5 separate regions of the Homo sapiens genome follow, and all the other regions are linked to region 1. The links are contacts of gene promoters, found by promoter capture Hi-C in blood cells and fetal thymus (Javierre and others, 2016). All regions are on one chromosome and are shown on one strand. The core of a region is centred on a gene start or on the middle of the fragment in contact, and the rest is flanking DNA. Distances in the headings are between cores, read along the strand shown.

Region 1 (2,587 bases), core at 66-2,565:
TCCCCTCTTTACACGCATATTTTATTAAAGTGTAACAGATTAAAAGGTGCTCTAGCCAGGGCAAACCAGGTAAGTGGTTTCCAAAACTCACGTTGATTTAAAAGTTCTTGCACCCCTCCAAATTTCTTCTTAAAGAGGACAGCTATCCCAGCGCCCATGCGACAATCCTCACTGATACAGTGGGCTAAAGAGTCTGTTTTCGGGCATGCAAAAAGGTCTCCTTTCACATAAGTGATCTAAAAAATGTGCAAAGGAAAAGACAATGTTTTATTAGATACAGTAAAATACTAAGCTATTTTTCTGTATTTTGTGTCCCCCACGACTACCTCTCCCGGCACCCCTTCCTCCAATCTGATTTAAAGCCAAACCAATTACAGCATGTGTAAAAGGAAAGTAATGGATGATCCCTGCCTAGAATTTTGAGCCTTTTTAAAGTAAATCAGCTAGAGAGAAAAAAAGATAATGCAATCATTAATTTAATTAAAAAGTGTTTATGCTTTTGACCTCCATTATTACGAATTTCAGTTCACCAATAAGTCAATAGTTGTTACGCACTCTGCTTCCTTCTGGATCTTCATTAAGGCTGCTGGCCATGATACTGAGTCGCTATTTCCAGAATTTAAGTGTTTCTTCAGCTATGAGAAGGGAAAAGGAAGTAAAAATGCTTAGGCAGCCTTAGTATATAATATTCTGATTGCCCTGTACAACCACTTAATAGGCTTTTTTCCCCAACGTTTATCGATGAATGTGAGTTTGTTCGGCCCCTGGGACGTAATACAAAACCCTTCTGGGGCAAAGAGGAAGAACGCTTAGGTTCGGAGGCTGTCTCGACCCGCTCTCATTTCGTGCTTTCCTGGAGCGCCCCGCTCCGTCAGCGGAAGCAAAGCCCATCCCTAAGACACGCCTCCTCCTTTCTCCAGGGCCACTCCGGAGCAAGGCCGATTTAGGACGGTCTCCTTTTCTCTGCACGACGCAAAAGTATTTCCCCAGTGGGTCTGGCTTAGAAGAAAACAGAAGGGACTTGGCCACAGTCCCGTTAAGCCGCAACCACAGAGTGTACAGGGTACTGGCGTGCTGAGCCCCAGGCGTGGGGAAAGGAAGGCGGCCTCTCAAGGAACGTTCACCCCCCACTTTTTTGGGGGGTGCGTGGGAGAAGGAAAGAGTCTATTGAAGCCTCCCATTCTCTGTCTCCTACCCTAGGGCGGGTCAGCGAGGACGCAGTCTGTCCTGGGGTCCTATGGGAGGGTGCGGGGAGGCTCGCTCAAAGCCCCAACGTACCCAAGTCACCCTTCACCTGGAAAGGAGTCGGTTGTTTGGAGGTCCCCGCCCCGCGGGGAAGGGCTCCGGATCCGACCCTGGTAGGTGGGGAGCAGCGGACCAGCCCAAACGCGGAGCCAATCCCGCCAAAGCCCTTAATTGCACGCATCTAAGATGGCCGCCCCCGCCCGGTAGCGGGGCGGAAACGAGCCCCTCTAGCTTGCTAGCCGAGCCCACACTCTTTGGCGAAGGCCGCCGAACTTCCGGCAGTAAATTCCGTGGTTTCCCGCCGCCGCCCGCGCATGCGTAACGAAACTGCCCCACGAGTCGGGAAAAGTGGCGCTTGCGCATTAGCCGCAGGGGTGTGTCCTAGTGGCCACTTGGAAAGGGGTGGGCAGCTGGCAAAGGGGCTAGTTAGCGCCTGCGTAGTACTAAGCTCAAGGCAGCGTTTTGAGTTGAAGGGTCTGGCGCGTCTGGAAAGCGCCTGCGTATTCCTTTCACTGGGGGTGGTGTCAAAGCGGGAAGGTGGGCGTGGCTTCAGGGAACGCCTGCGCGTTGCTCCTCCGAAGGGGTGGGGCGATCCCTGAACTGGAGTTAGTGGGCGTGGCCTCAGAGGCGCCTGCGCGGAGGCGGTTGGAGGGAGGCCCGATTCCCCTTTGTTCGGGTTCGCCATTTTGCTAGGCAGCGGCAGTGGCGGCGGCAGCGGCGGCTGGAGCCTCTGATTGGGTTTCGGAGTCCGGTACTGGAGCCAATCAGCGCGGGCAGCGAACCGGGGGAGCGAGGCACGGTGAGTGTGAGGAGCCAATATCCAGCGGCCCAGAGCCGGCCCCAGCGCCCCGATTGGCGGGTCTCGCTGACCACTCAGGAGAGGCCCAGGCGCCCGTCGAGCCCGGGGAGTCGAGCTGAGCCTAGCCGAGCCGGGCGGCCAGCGGCCCCGGCCCGGGGCCTGCGAGCGCCTCGGGGCACTCCCGGCCGAGGCCTGCAGGGGCCGCCCCGCGCGGGGATGGCGCCTCGGGGAGCAGGCACCTCGGGGCTCCGACCCTCGCAGGGTGCCAGGGCCAGTTGGGAATGCGTCCCTGTTCCCCGACTCAGGCCCAGGTTCTCAGGCCCCAGGCCTGGGGCCACGAATGGCCCTACACTAGGGGACACATGCGCGCCCTGGGCCTCGGCGATTTCCTCCTGGTCGTTCTGGCCGCAAACTTAAACCTGCCCTTGCACTCTCCACTCTCCGGCCCTTGGGACAGGAAGCCTCCCCGGGGCCCGCGCCCCCCGCTCCCCGCTCCCAGCGAGCCGGGTCTGTCTTATCTGCAGCCCCTCTAGGTCGGGAGGG
Region 2 (2,587 bases), core at 57-2,556, 2.0 Mb before region 1:
TGGGGGCTTGCCTGGGATATGGCTGGAGAGGGAAGCAGGAGGTTTCTGTAGGAATTTTTAAAAGTTACCAGCATTTTTGTCCTAATGTGGAAGAAGCTCGTCACAGAATTATTTCAGGAAACTGCTTTTCTCCAAGCAAAATCTGGTAGTGGGAAGGAGGATGTAGATACTTCCTCATCAATGACTGCTGAAAAGATGCAGCGGCATTGTCAGTCACAGCGAGGCCCGGGTCGGGGCAGAGGCATCATTGCAGTCAGAGCTTGGCCCAAATGGAGGCCGCAGTGGCTTTGTTGCTCCAAATGACATGGTTTAGTTATTTTGATGGCCAAAGAGTATTCTTTGTGCATATACATTACAGTTTCTTGATCCCTTCATCTGTAGATGGACAGGAGATAAAGTTTTTGGAATCTCCATGCCTGAGATTAAAAGGTGTGGGACTTCCTCTACCAGGCTCATTTCCTTGGACCTAATATCCTCTGGGTTTCTTGGGTTTCTCCACATGGCTGTGGATGACAGGATTTCCCAAAGCTTTATGGCTGAAGCATATTCCATAGTGTATCTGTATGGTGGTTTCTTTATCCCTTCAGCTGTGGGTGGACAGGACAGGTCATTTACCATGATGTCCTCTAGGTTCAACAGTGTGGCTGCAAATGATGTAATTTCATTACATTTTTCTGGATGAAGAGTATTCCATTTGTGTATATATACTACAGTTTCTTTATCCCTTCATCTGCGGATGAACAGGTTTCTCCACATGGCTGCAAATGACAGGATTTCATCCACTTCTGTCGTGGAAGGGTATTCCATTCTGGATATATATTTCAGTTTTGTCATCCCTTCATCAAGGGATGAACAGGTTCAACTGTGTGGCTCCAGGTGATATGATTTCAGTATATGTGCACAGCTGAAGGGTATTCCATTGTGAATGAATACTACAGTTTCTGTATCCCTTCATCTGTGGATGAACAGGTCTCTCTCCACGTTGCTGGAAGTGGGGTGATGTCCTAAAGTTTGATGGCTGAAGAGTATTCCATTGTGCAAATATCCTGGAGTTTCTGTATTCCTTCATCTGTGGATGAACACGACTGCTTTACATTTGGCCTGTGCCAATGGCCATGTGGAAGTGGTCACTCTCCAGGTGAACTGAAAGTGCCAGACTGACATTGGTGACAAATGAAACAGGATGCCTTTGATGAAGGCTGTACATTGCCAAGAAGAGATTTGTGTCATCATTCTGCTAGAATGTGGCACCAACCCAGATCTTATGGATGTCTATAGCAACAATGCACTACACTATGCTGTGTATAATGAGAATACACTACTGGCAGAAAAACTGCCCTCACACCATGTGAATACTGAAGTGCTGAACAAGGATACTGAAGTGCTGAACAAGGATGCAAACACACCACTTTTACTTGCTATAGTTTGCAAAACACAGCAAAAGGTGGAATTTTAGTGAAGAAACAAGCAAATGTACATGCTGTTGATAGGTTGAAAAGAACAGCTCTCATGCCTGTTGTACATTATGGCTTGTCAGGTATAGTTAGCATTCTTCTTCAACAAAATATTGTCTTTACTCAAGAGTATGTATGAACAGACTGCAGATTATGCTATTTCTGGTGGTCTGACAAGCACTCACAACAAATTTTGCAACATTAAAAAAAAAAGATACTTGAAAATGGTCTTCAAAATGACAACCCAGAAGAAGCATCCAAGAAGAATGCAAGTTTGAAAACAGGAGGAGCAAGTGCAAAAGATTCTGGGAGTTCTGAAGCATCTGCATTCAGTATTTAAAAAAAAACTGTGTGTTGACTCATGGCCTAAACCAGATGATGAAGACTTGACTTTTACTACCAAGCAGTGTATCCCTGAGAGTGTTTCAAAGTCTTTACTTGGACCTTCATATAAAAAAGGAAAAAATATATAGTAAATGGAAAGGGAGAAGGGCCTCCTGAAAAACATCCTTCCCTAAAGCCTACCATGGAAATGAAAGATTCTGTTGTGAAGAAAGCAATAGAAAGGAAGAACGAACAAACATCCAAAGCAGAACAAGAAGTACAAGTGACATCAGAGGAAGAACAGGAAAAGCTTGAAAGTGAAAATAAACAGCCACAGGTTGAAGAAGCTAGAAAGAAGCACGAAAGTTAAAAAAAAAAAGTATCAAAAAAACGTATATGATAGTACATCTGCTGACGATGATGATAAATTAATTCAACAAAGAAAGAGTGGAAAAACTTACCATCAGCGATTTCCTAGGAAGGAGAACAAAGAGTATGCTAGGCCTGCAAAGAAAATGTCAAATGAAAAGAAAAAGGTCAAAAAGCAAACTCATTTAGAGATGAACCTGATGACTTAACTCGGCCCTCTGAAACAGCTTCAGAGGATCATGAGAAACCTTACCCTCATTGTAAGAAGTTTATGATGCTCATTAAGCAATATGGAATGGATTGTAATGATTCTCGTATCCTAATGGAAGTCCAGAATGCATTTCTTTCATGTGAAAAGTCACTGGACCTTAAAAAAAATTATCTGTGAACAACTTACACTAGACAATAAGAAATATGAAAACTGAGTTTAGTGTACTGAA
Region 3 (2,587 bases), core at 30-2,529, 1.8 Mb before region 1:
ACTCTCCTCCCCCATCATAAAGGGACTACGCGGGTATTATTCGTTTGTGCAACCTGCTACTTTCACAAAGTTTTACTCCAAGCCCTTGAAGGATGTCTCCGCGAGATAAGCCTTCCCGGAAGCCTGAGCGCGTCCCCAGCATTCCAGGCACCAGCCCTCATCCCGTGGGTTCGGGCCCCACAGAGCCTCCAGCTCCTCTCCGGAACTCTGCTGGGGGCGGAAGATTTTGCCCAGGCTCGGGCTGAGGGACCCTCCCGCCACTCTGCCGGGTTCACGTTCCTTAAGAAAAGCCTGGCAGGCGTGGCACTGGCCCTGGAGCGGGGAGGTGGAGACACGAGGGGATGGCACCAGGCTTGGCTCCCAGACTCCGGGAGCGTCTCCAGGGAAAGATAAACGCCTTTATCCGTCCCACAGCCTCTTCCCAAGGAGGGAGGTACCGTCACACCCACACTGAAACACCGTGGAGCCTAGTTCACCCGGGAATCAACTCCAATTTGTCTCCGGCCAAACTAAGTTCCAAAGAGTCTCCGCGCCTGGGGGACCCCTGTGTCCCTCGGGTGAGCGACAGATCCTCGAAGCCTGACCCATGATGAGACACGCTCTCTCATCACCCCCTGGACCTTCCACAGGGACTGAGGGTCACCCAAAGCTGTGAAGGGGTCTTCCTTTCAGCGCCCCCTAAAGCTCAAGCCAGCTTCAGATGTATATGGGGGTACAGGCGGCGACTGACCTCTAGGATCTTGTCCAGGCCCTCCTGACCCAGGCACGGGAACTCCTTGAGCAGATGCAGCTTCTGTGTGTAGTAGTTTTTCTTGGCCTCCTTCCAGTGTGGCTCCTCCAGCACTTCGAAGATCGCCGCCCCGATGGCCAGGTAGAAGATGATGGCCGAGGTGAGCAGAGGGCCCCGGTCCACCATGGCTCCCGAGCGGCCGCCTCCTAGAGAAAGCCTCTCCTAGCCCCAGCTGCTACCAGTCCGCCCGCCCTCCAGCCTCTGAAAACAGCTGTTTGAATTTGGAGCTCCGCATGCGCAGTGCCCGGTACTCACCCCCCGCAAGCACCGCTCCCCGGACAGAGTTGCTTGGCCAAGTTGGCCCACGGAGTGCGGGGAGCTGCGTGGGGCCCCACTCACGCGGCCCGGGGTGGGCGAACACCAGCGGGGCTGAAAGGGCGCCCTGGACCGCGGATGCGTAAGGAGCGGGAAGAACACAGGACTTGACTCTGGGCAGACACGTGGGCCGCTTCTCCACGCGTCGCTCCTCCGCGCGCCACTAGCAGTATGCGCCGCGCCCGCCTCCGCACGCCTCTTTAACCAGCGCCCGGCGCGCTCTGCCCCCTTGCTCCGGGCTCCGACCGGGGAGGAGCCCAGGCGGGCCCCGCCCCTTCCCCGCACAAGCAGCCCGGCGAGCGCAGGAGTGAGCGCGAGGTGAGCGCTAGAAGAGGCTTGGCGCTCCCCGCGCTCCCAGGGTCAGCCGCCAGGGGAGGCTGCGCCGCCCGCCCAGACCTGCACGCCCTGCGGTGCCCGAGGGGTTGCGGTCTCAGGGACTCGTGTTTGTTATTAGGACTGGCGTGTTAACTAAAATGATTGTGACTGAGGTCAGGAGTTTATTGCTTTTGTTATTTTTATTGTAATTCCATTTTCATTTACTGATGTTTCTTCCAAAAAAGTCTAATGCTCAGTCTCTCCGTGTCTCTCTTCCACACACTTTCTTGTAAGCCTGAGGAAGGGGGTTAGAACGGGGCTGAAGAAGCTGTAGGGAATCAGAGGACATCAGGAACTAATCCAGCCACCCACGCGTGATTCCTCCCCCTCACCCCGTTCTCACCTACCCGGGTGAGAACCCTGCATCTGGAAGGAGTGGGCAGCTCAATTCGTGGCACCCCTGTGCGCCCCCCCAATACACAGTATCTCTACGGGAAACACTTGGCCTCTTTTCTTTTTTTCTTTTCTCTTTTCTTTTCTCTTCTCCTTTCCTCTCCTTTCCTCTTTTCTTTCAGACGGAGTCTCACTCTGTCGCCAGGCTGGAGTGCAGTGGCACTATCTCGGCTCACTGCAACCCCCGCCTCCCGAGTTCAAGCAGTTCTTCTGCCTCAGCCTCTCAAGAAGCTGGGACTACAGGCGCACGCCATCACGCCCAGCTAATTTTTGTATTTTTAGTAGAGACGGGGTTTCACCGTGTTGGCCAGGCTGGTCTCAATTCCTGACCTCAGGTGATCCGCCCGCCTCAGCCTCCCAAAGTGCTGGGATTACAGGCGTGAGCCACCGCGCCCGGCCCACTTTCATACATATGCTCCAGCTGATTTAAAATTCCACCCCCGCCACCTTATCTCCCTCGTTGGCTTTATGTCCTTCCTAGTACTAAATTCCCTCTGCTATATTATATAACTTTATTTATTGTTTACTCTGTATTGTGCCCTCTCCCCGCCACACACACACAGACACACACACACACACACACACACACACACACACACGGAAATGTCTGCTGGGGAGATGGAGAATCTGTCTTGTGTAATGATGTATCCACAGTGCTTGTTACATACATAGCAGACACTCAATAACCATGTGTGCAATGAAGGAGTGAATGAA
Region 4 (2,587 bases), core at 61-2,560, 1.7 Mb before region 1:
CCGTGTCAACCTGTCTTTGGCTTCCTTTGTGGCCCCGTGGTCACTGAAAAGCCAGAATGAATATTCTTCCTTTCGGAATAAAAATTGAGCTGTGGAAGTTTTGTTTGCTTTGATGAATTACTTCCAGGCTGCTGTTTATTTGGAGAGCAAAGCTCCCCAGCTGCAGGGTGGGTAGAGGCTGCGGTCACTCCCCTCGTCAATGCTGGTTCCTGTTCCTGAGGCCGAGAGAACTCCTGACAGCAGAGTGGGCATATCTTGGTAGTTGCAGCTTTTCAAGACAGTGTGGCCCAGTGGGGAGAGAGCAGAAAACCTGGGTTATGCTGGCTCTGCCATTTATCAGCTGTGTAACCTTGGGCAAGTGATACAACCTCTGTGTGCCTCAGTTTCCTTTCCTCACCTGTCCACAGGGGATCATAATCTTGGCCCTGCATGCCTTACAGGAGCGTTAAGAGCATCAAATGAAACAATAAAAATGAAAACATTTATAAATGGTAGTTTGCCATACATATTTTAATAAAAGTGCCTGCCCTTCAATCCAGCTCTCTGCACTGCCTGGGGACAGTGTTAGCAGGAGGACACCACTCTGACAGGGACCTGGACTTCCGCCTCTTCTGTTTGGAGAGAGTTAGATGATCACATCTCTTATATGTACAAAAGCTTAGTGAATGTAACTTAAAGATATTGCTTGCTTGTAGGCTTCTTGAGGGGAGGAATGATGGTTGGTTTCTATGGATTTGTTACAGGGGAAGGGATATCTCAGCTCAAAGGATATCCTGCGTATCCAAGCCTTCCTCCACTTGTGCCCCACACACTGTCCCCTCTACTTTCTCAAGGAAGTTTTTCCTGCAGCTCTGCTCCCCTCTCCCACCACAGCATCAGTTTCCCTCTCTATGCATGTTTCAGCACGTGAGCATGTCTTAAAGCATCCCTCTGGGCTCCTGCTTCCCTTTAGCTCCAGCCCAGTTCTCTGCTCCTGTCACTGCTCAACCCCCTGGAGGGGTTGTATCTGCTCACTGCCTCAGCCTCTTTCCCTTCCACCCTCTCCCCAGCCACTCCCAGTCCCCTGGCTAAATGGTGCTTGTCCATGATCACCCTGACATGCAAAATGGCCAGTGGTCCACATTCCATCCTGCCACACTCTACTGGCCCGTCTCCCCTTGGAGCTTGTGCTTCTCCAGCTTGTGCTTCTCCAGCTTGTGCCTGAGGCCATACCCACTTATCTGCTGTTCCTTTTCGCACCCTGGCAGTGCCTTCTCAGCATCTCTGCTTCCTCTCTCTCCGCAACTGTTGGAGAACCCCAGGGGGCTGTTCTCAGCAATTTGAATACCTCCATCTCTGGTCTTCAGAGGACATTGTACTCAGTCCTGTGGCTTCAGACACCAACCAGACATGATGACTTGCATATTTCTTTTTCTAGCTTAGACTTTCTCTCTGAGCTCCACTGATGCTCACCTGTCTACTCGACACCTCCTCTTGGACATCAAATGTCATCTGAAACTTCAAAAAGGGCAGCCAGAACTCTCCATCCCTCCAGCTCCTTGCCTCTGATGGTCATGCCTCCCTGCCTTTCTCATTTCAGTAAATGGCACTGCCATTCTCTTCGCTGCTCAGATCAAAAGCCCAGGAGGTGCCCTGACTCTCCTCTTTCTCTTGCATCTCATATTTGGTCTACTGGTGAGTCCAAGCCACAATCATCCCTTGCTGGCACTTTCATGGTAGCCTGGTAACTGGTCTACCCTTGGCCCCTACAATCTACACTACATGTGACAGACAAAGTGAGCTTTTTAAAGCATCAATCACATCATATCACTCCATGGTTAAAATTATTCAGTGGGCTTCCACTCTATCCAGAATAAAATCCAAATCTCTTTCCCCTGTGCATAAGGCTGGTGTGACTTGGCCCTTGTGCTCTTGCTCCCTGCCCTCCAGCCACTCTAGCTTCCTTCCCACCCTGTGGCCAAGCAAAGCTTCCCCTTCAGGCTTCTCGCTTTCCGCTCTGTCTGCTAGGACTGTGCATTCCCAGAACGCGGCGTAGCTGCTCCATTCTCATGATGCAGCTGTCAGTTTAAAGTTATCTTCTCCAGCAAGGCCTCCCCAACCTACCCAGCTAAAAGCAGTCTTCCCAGTTACTGTCTACAACATTACATAGTTTAGCTATTTCATAGCACTTATTATCCCCTCAAACAATCTTACGTATTTGTCGACGTGTTCATTGTCTGTCTCCTTCCTCCCCCTAGAATGTCAGTTTCTCACGTGCTGGGTTCTGTCTTGTTCTCTGCTGTAGCACCAGCACTAGTAGTAGTGCCTGGCATAAGAAGGCACCCAACATATACAGTGTTTGCTGACTGATTGGCTGTTCATTGCTGTTCAGTGCCTGATACCTATCATCAGAGTATTTGGGGCATAGATGGGGACTTGGAGATCACTGAATCCAGTTTTTTATTTTTTTTTATTTTTTTTTATTTTTTTTTATTTTTAGACAAGGAAACTGAGAATGAGACAAGATCACAGCAGAGGTGGGGCTGTCTCAGGCTTAAGAAAGGACCTGACAGTGTTGCTGAGGCTGCTGGTCCTGGTGGTGAAGAGA
Region 5 (2,587 bases), core at 37-2,536, 1.2 Mb before region 1:
CTAGGCTTAGAAGGCATAATAACTTCTCAAACCACTTTTCCACCACATTTTGTCTGTCAACACCTCTATGAGACCGAGCAGGGGATGTTGCCTTGCAAGGAAGGCAGAAGGTGCTGCTCCATGTCACTCAGGGGGCTGAGGCTGAGGCTGAGGCTGGGGCTGGGCCTGGGCCTGGGCCTGGGAAGGCCCGGGGAAGCCTTGGATATTGCTCTCAAGGCTCTATGTGCAGGTGGCTGCCAGCAGTCTGGTCTTCCAGTCACAGAGAAAGTAGGGGGTGAGTTGGTGGCAGAGCGCAGGGTGTTCCTGAGGTGGGAATCTGAAACTGTGCCGAGTATCTGTGGGGACTGCCAAAAGGGTTGCTTCTCAGACCTCATCCTGGAATGTGATTCGGGAGATGAGTTGGGGCCCAGGAATCCGCCTGGTAACTAGCAGCTAGGGGCCTTCCCTCTAAGTCCATTTGGGGAATGACCAGCTTAGAAGCCTCAGGGAATTGCTTTATCTCTGGCCCGCCCCAGAGGGACTTCTCCCTCTTGGGGCTGGGCTACCATCTTCCTTGTTTTCTTTACTTAGCCTGGGATCTCAGTCTTGAGGGTTTCCCTGGGTGCCAATGAGTGGGTCCTGGCAATGGCTGGCTGTTGTGGCCTGGCTCCCCACTGAGCTGGAGAGGTTGCCCTAGCTCACTTTCTGCCCAGCCCTGATCTGTGGATGACTGAGGACACATGCAGCCGCTCCTAGGGCTCTGGCCAGATGATTGCTTATTTAATTTAAATGTGGGTGCCCACAGCATCGGATTCTCTACTCCTAATTCCAGGAGGCATTTTTAACCCCATGCCCATGTCAGGCTGGCAGCTAAGGCTGCTGGAGCTGAAAGGAACTCTTTGAGCACTGGCTCCTGGGAGCCAATTCTCCACGAGTGGGGTTGAGGACAGAGGAGTGTGTGGCAAGCATACCAGGCTTGGTGATCGCAGGCCACCTCCTCATTTGAGAGTCTTTCTGCAGGACAGGACTCTGGCCCAGCCTACTCAGGCTCCAGGGCCCTGAGGTGAGGCTGGGATGGGGCCAGTCAGGAAAGAAGGTTATGGATTTTGTACAAACTGGGTCTGGGGCCTCCCAGCTTGGTGAGTTGAGAAGAGTTAAGACTGAAAGACCCCCTGTCCTGTCCCCCTCACCTCTCTGAGCCCACACAGTCCAATCACCTGCCTCCCCTCACTCAGTGGGCCGTCTAGTCTCTGGGACTGAAATCCCAGCAGCAGGACTGGAGAGATCCCGGAGGCCGTATTAACCTTGTTGCCTCTTCTCTCAGTTGGTTGTGGGGCAGGGGAGGTCCTGGGAGTCATGGTCTTCTCTGTGCCCCATGCGAGTTTTGAGTCAGTAGCTTCCACTCCATCGGCGTCAGGGAGAACAGAGGTGCGTGCTGTGCCTCTTCAGTTCCCCTTGCACATCAAAGGACAGATGAGGGGCAGTGAGCAAATTCAAGGGCACTTGCTTTTCTCTGCCTCAGTAAACACAACTTTCTGGAGCTTCCAGATCGAGTTCATTTGTGACTCCTCCTCTATTTAGAAAGGTGAACTCATCCCAGGATGGAGGAATGTCCTCCACCCTCTCTGCAGGTTTTCAGCAGAGGAAAAGGAAGAACAGGCAGCAAAGCCTGGGGTGGGAGAACTCAGGGGTTTGGTCTGCCCTAACTGGGGAGTGGTGGTCGCACTAGGCAGATGGGAGGAGCTGCCTGATCTCCGCTTCGTTTGGCTTCTCCGTGAGTGCATGTCTGCTAGAAGCAGCTCCTGTCTAGTGCCACTTATGGGTGCCTGTCTACAACCATGGGTCTCACTGGGATGAAGTGGACAGTGTAGATGCTGAGGGATCCCTGTGTCTGTCATGCTATTTCTGGGTCCCCAAATGTCTTGGCTAATGTTGTGCATGTTTAATTCTCTGTTGGCTGTGGCTGCTGCCTAGGAGCTGATAACTAATCCTTCTCAGCAGGTGAGTTACTCTCGGGGCTCTGACCACTCCAACTTTTAACTGCTGTCCCGGGCTGCTGCTCTGTACTGGGCCTGACAGAGAGGACTTGTCCATTCCACTTTCTACCTTATTCCCCATTCATACAGGGTGGTATGGGAGAGGGCCCCCAAAGAGAAAGAAGAAATGTAGCAGAGGGAGGTAATCAAATAGACCCCTGGCAGCAGTGGAGGTCAATGTCTCCTGGAATGAGGAGAAGGCTTCTAGGTCTACTGTCTTACCCACCAGGCCAAAGGAGAGCCTTTCCTGTAAGGACACACAGGGTAGGCACGACACAATTCACAAAGATAACCATGCAAGGCGGCCCCTGAAGTTGTGCAAGAGGGACCTCCCAGAGGAAGAACAGCACACTAGACAGCCTCCTGTCTACCTCGCCAGGGGCCCAAGAGAAGGAGTGGGGCGGGATCAATGATTTCTCCAGAATCTGCCTGCTGGGACTCAGAGGAGAGAGTTCTGCTTCAGTTTCCATACCTCTGAACTTGTGGATGCTCTCTACCCTGGGCATCTTGGGCTGTGCCTGAAGTCCCTAGGAGTCAGCAACTGTTCCCTAGGGGGGTTTGCAACCAGGTTC

The links. Contacts are between HindIII fragments. The CHiCAGO score rates a contact against its expected background, and 5 or more counts as called.
Region 2: a contact is called between a fragment that was not itself captured here and the fragment with the promoter of OARD1 in region 1, in 2 of 17 cell types (naive CD4 T cells and total CD8 T cells). The highest score is 9.1, in naive CD4 T cells.
Region 3: the fragment with the promoter of KCNK5 here is called in contact with the fragment with the promoter of OARD1 in region 1 in 1 of 17 cell types (erythroblasts); the score reaches 5.2 in erythroblasts.
Region 4: a contact is called between a fragment that was not itself captured here and the fragment with the promoter of OARD1 in region 1, in 3 of 17 cell types (total B cells, megakaryocytes and naive B cells). The highest score is 7.1, in total B cells.
Region 5: a contact is called between a fragment that was not itself captured here and the fragment with the promoter of OARD1 in region 1, in 1 of 17 cell types (endothelial precursors). The highest score is 5.3, in endothelial precursors.

The regions. Positions count from the first base shown.
Region 1 is chr6:41,071,041-41,073,627 of GRCh38, forward strand. It overlaps OARD1 (O-acyl-ADP-ribose deacylase 1), which reads right to left and starts at 1,316. Exons shown (of 6, transcript NM_001329686.2): 1 at 1,196-1,316; 2 at 556-635; 3 at 92-236. The coding sequence starts at 594. It overlaps NFYA (nuclear transcription factor Y subunit alpha), which reads left to right and starts at 1,934. Exons shown (of 10, transcript NM_002505.5): 1 at 1,934-2,044. RefSeq lists enhancers at 1,335-1,544, 1,575-1,624 and a silencer at 2,005-2,587. The HindIII fragment of the contact is 4,776 bases long and covers 1-2,587 here.
Region 2 is chr6:39,109,246-39,111,832 of GRCh38, forward strand. The region is part of intron 1 of SAYSD1 (SAYSVFN motif domain containing 1); the gene reads right to left. It also overlaps the pseudogene ANKRD18EP. Among named protein-coding and RNA genes, the nearest start is that of SAYSD1, 4.6 kb to the right of the region's middle. The HindIII fragment of the contact is 1,560 bases long and covers 527-2,086 here.
Region 3 is chr6:39,228,196-39,230,782 of GRCh38, forward strand. It overlaps KCNK5 (potassium two pore domain channel subfamily K member 5), which reads right to left and starts at 1,280. Exons shown (of 5, transcript NM_003740.4): 1 at 731-1,280. The coding sequence starts at 916. RefSeq lists silencers at 1-27, 1,041-1,120, 1,221-1,570 and an enhancer at 1,858-2,585. The HindIII fragment of the contact is 7,595 bases long and covers 1-2,587 here.
Region 4 is chr6:39,340,160-39,342,746 of GRCh38, forward strand. All of the region lies in intron 22 of KIF6 (kinesin family member 6), which reads right to left. LOC105375047 (a long non-coding RNA gene) reads left to right here. Exons shown (of 3, transcript XR_926774.3): 3 at 2,480-2,542. Among named protein-coding and RNA genes, the nearest start is that of KCNK16, 19 kb to the left of the region's middle. The HindIII fragment of the contact is 1,310 bases long and covers 656-1,965 here.
Region 5 is chr6:39,884,468-39,887,054 of GRCh38, forward strand. All of the region lies in intron 15 of DAAM2 (dishevelled associated activator of morphogenesis 2), which reads left to right. Among named protein-coding and RNA genes, the nearest start is that of DAAM2-AS1, 12 kb to the right of the region's middle. The HindIII fragment of the contact is 5,859 bases long and covers 1-2,587 here.